Linked DNA regions of Homo sapiens: region 1 is linked to region 2. Evidence: promoter capture Hi-C in human tissues and cell types (Jung and others, 2019). All regions are on one chromosome and are shown on one strand. Each heading gives the region's core, a stretch centred on a gene start or on the middle of the fragment in contact. The rest is flanking DNA. Distances are from core to core; before and after follow the strand shown. Region 1 overlaps LIMK1 (LIM domain kinase 1). Region 2 holds the start of LAT2 (linker for activation of T cells family member 2).

Region 1 (2,700 bases), core at 173-2,672, 120 kb before region 2:
TTAGCCGGGCGTGGTGGCGCATGCCTGTAGTCCCAGCTACTCAAGAGGCTGAGGTGGCAGGGTTACTTGAGCCTGGGAGGTGGAGGCTGCAGTGAGCTATGATCGCACCACTGCACTCTAGCCTGGGCAATAGAGCGAGACCCAGTCTCAATTTTTAAAAAAGAAAGAAAGAAAAACAAATGGTGTGGGAGAGAATTACAGGCATAGTCACCAAACAGCAAGGTTCAGGGGAGAAAACTCCATAAAAGGGTAGAAGGTGAAGCTTCTGGGATGCCCAGCAGGGGTCAAGACATCCACCACTAGGACTTTATTTTAGGCTTCTGCCTTGGTTTATTTTTTGGTTTTTGGTTTTTTTGAGACAGTCTTGTTGTGTCGCCCAGGCTGGGGAGCAGTGGCGCGATCCCTCCTCACTGCAACCTCCGCCTCCCAGGTTCAAGCGATTCTCCTGCTTCAGCCTCCCAAGTAGCTGGGATTACAGGTGTGCACCACCACGCCCGGCTAAGTTTTGTATTTTCAGTAGAGATAGGGTTTTGCCATGTTGGCCAGGCTGGTCTCGAACTCCTGACCTCAAGTGATCTGCCCGCCTCAGCCTCCCAAAATGCTGGAATTACAGGCATGAGCCACTGCACCTGGCCTCGGTTTGTTTTTTTGTTTCTTCTTTTCTTTTTTTTTACACAGGGTCTTGCTGTGTCACCCAGGCTGGCGTGCAGTGGTGAGATCATAGCCCACTGTAGCCTCCAGCTCCAACTGGTTCAAGCGATCCTTCTGACTCAGCCTCCCAAAGTGCTGGGATTACAAGCATAAGCCACCATGCCCAGCCTGTTTTTTCTTTTTTAGGAATAACGTCTAACGTTTTCTAACATTCAGTAAGGGACAACCCCTGTTCTAAGTACTTTGCATAGTTAGATATTAGTGCTGTCTTTGTTTTGCCAGAGAGAAAATTGGGACACAGAGAGGTTAATTCTCTTGATGAAAGTCACACAGCCAGTGAGTGAAATGAACACACTCAGTGTGGCTGAAAGGAGACAGACAGCATGCCCTGGGATTCTGCATCAGGTGCTCAGAAAGAGGCCTTCGGGGGGCAAGAGGGCTCTCAACAGGCAGAGGAAACCATCTGCACAGCGGTGGGATGGTGCGGACTGCTGAGGGAACAGGAACAGTTCCCTTGGAAGGAACAGAATAAGCTGAGGGATCCAACAAGAAACAAAGTTGAGACCGATTCGTGAAGGGCCTTGAATGCCAAGATAAGGAGTTTCAGAAGTCAGGATGGGGGTGGTGGCTCATCCCCGTAATCCCAGCACTTTGGGAGGCCGAGGCAGGCAGATCACTTGACCCCAGGAGCTTGAGACCAGCCTGGCCAACGTGGTGAAACCCCCGTCTCTACTAAATATTCAAAAATTAGCCAGGCATGGTGGCACATGACTGTAATCCAAGCTACTCGGGAGGCTAAGGAAGGAGAATCACTTGAACCTGGGAGGCGGAGGCTGCAGTGAGCTGAGATCACGTCACTGCACTCCAGCCTGGGAGACAGAGCGAGACTCCATCTCAAAAAAAAAAAAAAAAAAAAATAGAAGGGAGTCGGCAGAAAGCCAGGGAGGGGCTGGGGTGACATGCTGTTGAAGAATGCCATCCCAGTGGGCCGGTGGTGGTATCTAGGCAGGGAAGGGACTGTCCCAGTAACTCAAGGGTCTGAGCTCATAGGACCTGACCTGGGACAGTGACTGAGGATGGAGAGAATTTCAGGCAGAAGGGACAGTTTTTGGTGAGTATTTGTCATATTGGCTACCATGCATTGAGCACTCTTCATGCTAATTTGTTAAATCTTCATCATAACTCTATGAGGGACTGTATGTGCCCAGTTTGCATGGGAGAAACAGAGATTCCATGCAATCAAGTGCCTCGCTGAAGGTTGTAACATCTAGAGCTGGGACTAAAACCTTCTCACTCCACATCGCCACAGAGTAGGAAAGGCAGGGGCTGGCGGTGGCACATGCCTATAATCCCAGCCCTTTGGGAGGCGGAGGCAGGTGGATCTCTTGAGCCCAGGAGTTTGAGACCAGTGTGGGCAACATAGTGAAACCTTGTCTCTACAAAAAAATTAGCTGAGCATGGTGGTGGTGCCTGTAGTCCCAGCTACTCAAGGGCGCTGACATGGGAGGGTTGCTTGAGCCTGGGAGGTGGAGGTTGCAGTGAGCTATGATCACACCACTGCAAGCCAGCCTGGGTGACAGAGTGAAATCCCATCTCAAAAAAAAGAAAGAAAGGAAGAAAGAAAAAGACAGGGGCTTCGGGGAGGGCATGGGCACTGGCGAATGGCAGGGTGGAACCTGAAGCCATCTGGTTTTCTAACCTGGGCACTGGGGAGTTGGTGGTTTGTTGACTCTGATGGAATTGGGGGTCATGTTGGGGAGGAGACATGCTCATCTGTGTTGAGCTGGAGGGGACATGGGCTATCCATGGTGGCTGTGTCCTGCCCAGAGCTAGCCATGGGAGCCTGAGTCCAGTTGGAGGTAGGAAAGTCAGAAAAAACGGCCGCCTCGGAGCTGGCCCTGAGATGGTGAGTGGGATTTGTGATAGGGCCAAGACGAATGAAGGGAAGAACTTTGGGGACCCCTGTGTCTGCGGTGAGGGGGGAGATGGAGCCTTGGGTGATGGAGAGAGGGTCAGGAGTAGAGCCACAGAAGCCACAGGAGGGAAGCC
Region 2 (2,916 bases), core at 224-2,723:
TCCTCCCGTTTTGGCCTCCCAAAACACTGGGACTACAGGTGTGTGCCACCACACCCAGCTAATTAAAAAAATTTTTTTAGAGATGGGGTCTCGTTCTGTTGTCCAGGCTGGTCTCAAATTCCTGTTCTCAAGCGATCCTCCTGCCTCAGCCTCCAAAAATGTTAGGATTGCAGGTGCAAGCCACTGCACCTGGCCTCTATCTCCCTGTTTCTTGCTCTCTCCCCATCTGTGTGTGTCTCTGACAGTCTGTGGCTCTCTGTATCTTTCTGTGTGTCTCTCTGTGTGTGTCTTGGTCCATCTCATGCCCAGCTAATTTTTAAATTTTTTGTAGAGATGGGGTTTCACCATGTTGGCCAGGCTGGTCTTGAACTCCAGACCTCAGGTGATTCTCCTGCTTCAGCCTCCCAAAGTGTTGGGATTACAGGCATGAGCCACCGTGCCTGGCCCATGGGTATGAATTTCTGCCTGTGTGTGTCTTCTTCTTTTTTTTTTTTTTTTTGAGATGAAGTCTTGCTCTGTCACCCAGGCTGGAGTGCAGTGGCGCTATCTTGGCTCACTGCAACCTCCACCTCCTGGGTTCAAGCAATTCTCCTGCCTCAGCCTCCCGAGTAGCTGGGATTACAGGCACCCGCCACCACACCCAGATAATTTTTGTATTTTTGGTAGATATGGGGTTTCACCATGTTGGTCAGGCTGGTTTTGAACCCCTGACTTCATGACCTGCCTGCCTTGGCCTCCCAAAGTGCTGGGATTACAGGCATGAGCCACCGCGCCCGGCCCATGGGTGTGAATTTCTGCCTGTGTGTGTCTTTTTAGCGTATGTGTGTCTCCATATCTGCCATCTGCAGGAGCACCTCAGTTTCATTATCTTGCTCCCTGTCTATTGGAGTGTATCTCTCTTCCTCTCTGTGTGACTTTTTGTGTTTATGTGTGTGTTTAGTGTGTGTCCATATTTTCCTGTTCTCTTGTGTCTCTCTGCTGTGTCTCTCTCTTTTTCTTTCTGTTTTTTGAGACGGAGTCTCCCTCTGTCACCCAGGCTGGAGTGCAGTGGTGCGATCTCGGCTCACTGCAACCTCTGCTTCTGAGGTTCAAACGATTCTCCTGCCTCAGCCTCCCGAGTAGCTGGAATTACAGACACATGCCACCATGCCCAGCTAATTTTGTATTTTTAATAGAGACGGGGTTTCACCATGTTGGCCAGGCTGGTCTTAAACTCTTGACCTTACGTGATCCACCCGCCTCGGCCTCCCAAAGTTTTTGGATTACAGGTGTGAGCCACCTCGCCCGGTCCTATCTCTCTTTCTTCTCTTTCTCCCTCTCACTTTGTTTCTCTTCTCTCTCTCTCTCCCGCCTCCTTCCCCCGTCTCCCCTCCCTTCCCCCCACCGCCCTCTTCATAGCTGAGCCTGTCCGGCAGTGCGGCGGATGTACGGATGATTCAGTGGCTGGCAGGAAGCCCGCCCTGCCCGCCCGCCAGTGTCAGTGGTGTTGGCATCAGCTTGGGCAGGTGTGCGGGCTCAGGATGGGGCGGCCGTGGTGAGGAACCCTGGACTCTCAGGTAAGCCTTTCCCAGGGGTGCCTCAGTCCTCAGGCTGTCCCCCATCCCCCAGGAGCTCCTGGCCCCACTGGGTGGGGTGGGAAGAGGCCTGGATGCCTGGCGCCCCCTCCCGCAGCCCCACTCTCACCCTGGCACCAGGCTCTGTGGCACTTCAGGGGTCAGTTTGTTTCTGGGCTTCTGGCCACTCTCTTGCCCTCGCCTTCCCCTGTCCAGCCTGTGTAGCCTTGGGACATCCCAGGGTGGTCCCATCATTGCCAGAGACTGGTGAAGTAAGTGGCCGAGAGCCAAAACAGTGGCTGCCCTGGCCTGGGAGCCTCGGTTTCCTCATCCGTGAAATGGGACTGTAACCCCCTACACAGGTCAGGGGAAAACGGTGGGATTACAGGCCAGGGCCCAGGTCTTGCCCCAGGTCAGGTGAAGAACCCCCACTGCCTCCCTGCCCAGCCCCCTACCTGGCCCTCAACTCTGTCCCTGGGACCAGGGCTGCTCAGGCCCCTCCTGCACCCGCCCGCCTCCCTCTCTCCCTCCCAGCTAGGCTCATTTGAAGCCCAGAGTTATTTGGAAAAAGCAACAGGACCAGCCGGGCACGGTGGCTCAACCTGTAATCCCAGCATTTGGGGAGGCCAAGGCGGGAGGATCATTTGAAGTCAGGAGCTGGAGACCAGCCTGAGCAACATAGTGAGACTCCCATCTCTTTAAAAAATAAAAATAAAAAAATATAATTAAAAACTAAATGAAAAAACCAACAGACCCCAGAGCAGAGTCCAGTGGATAAAGCCATCCAGGGCTTCAAGCCAGGCTGCCCCCTCCCCAACCCCAGTGTCCCCAACCACAGCTCAGCTCGGAGAAGGCTGGGAGAACCGGCAGGGTGGTCTCGAGCGTCCTTCCAGGCGGGATTCAGACACTGTAGCTCCTCCAGCCCAGCCCCGAGAACTTCCCCGAAGCCAGCTCTTGGCAATCGTTGTTCATATGAAAACTGCCCACTTCCCTTTAGTGCTATTTTGGCCTCTGCAGAACCGTGGTCTGTGGCAGCCCCCACTCCCCACCCCGCCCAGCCCTGCCGGCCCCTGGGGGCCTCAGAGGGTCCACCCTCCGCTCCCTCCACCTCAGCCCACCTGCTTTCAGAACCTGGATGGGAGAGTGAAAGTGAGAGCGAGACAGAGACACAAAGGGAGACAGAGACAGAGAGAGAGCACAGAATTTTTTTAAACGGAGTCTCACTCTGTTGTCCAGGCTGGAGTGCAGTGGCGTGATCTCGGCTCACTGCAACCTCCACCTCCCAGGTTCAAGCAGTTCTCCTGCCTTACCCTTCCAAGTAGCTGGGGACTACAGGCACGTGCTACCACACCTGGCTAATTTT

What was found. The method cuts DNA at HindIII sites, captures the fragments that hold promoters and counts their contacts. A contact is called where the count stands out against the background at its distance.
Region 1: a contact is called between a fragment that was not itself captured here and the fragment with the promoter of LAT2 in region 2, in 4 of the 25 tissues and cell types used here (aorta, dorsolateral prefrontal cortex, lymphoblastoid cells and 1 more).

Annotation. Positions count from the first base shown.
Region 1 is chr7:74,087,255-74,089,954 of GRCh38, forward strand. All of the region lies in intron 2 of LIMK1 (LIM domain kinase 1), which reads left to right. Among named protein-coding and RNA genes, the nearest start is that of LIMK1, 4.8 kb to the left of the region's middle. The HindIII fragment of the contact is 4,301 bases long and covers 1-2,700 here.
Region 2 is chr7:74,208,533-74,211,448 of GRCh38, forward strand. It overlaps LAT2 (linker for activation of T cells family member 2), which reads left to right and starts at 1,474. Exons shown (of 14, transcript NM_032464.3): 1 at 1,474-1,556. RefSeq lists enhancers at 958-1,067, 2,288-2,407 and silencers at 1,348-1,397, 2,508-2,597. The HindIII fragment of the contact is 33,709 bases long and covers 1-2,916 here.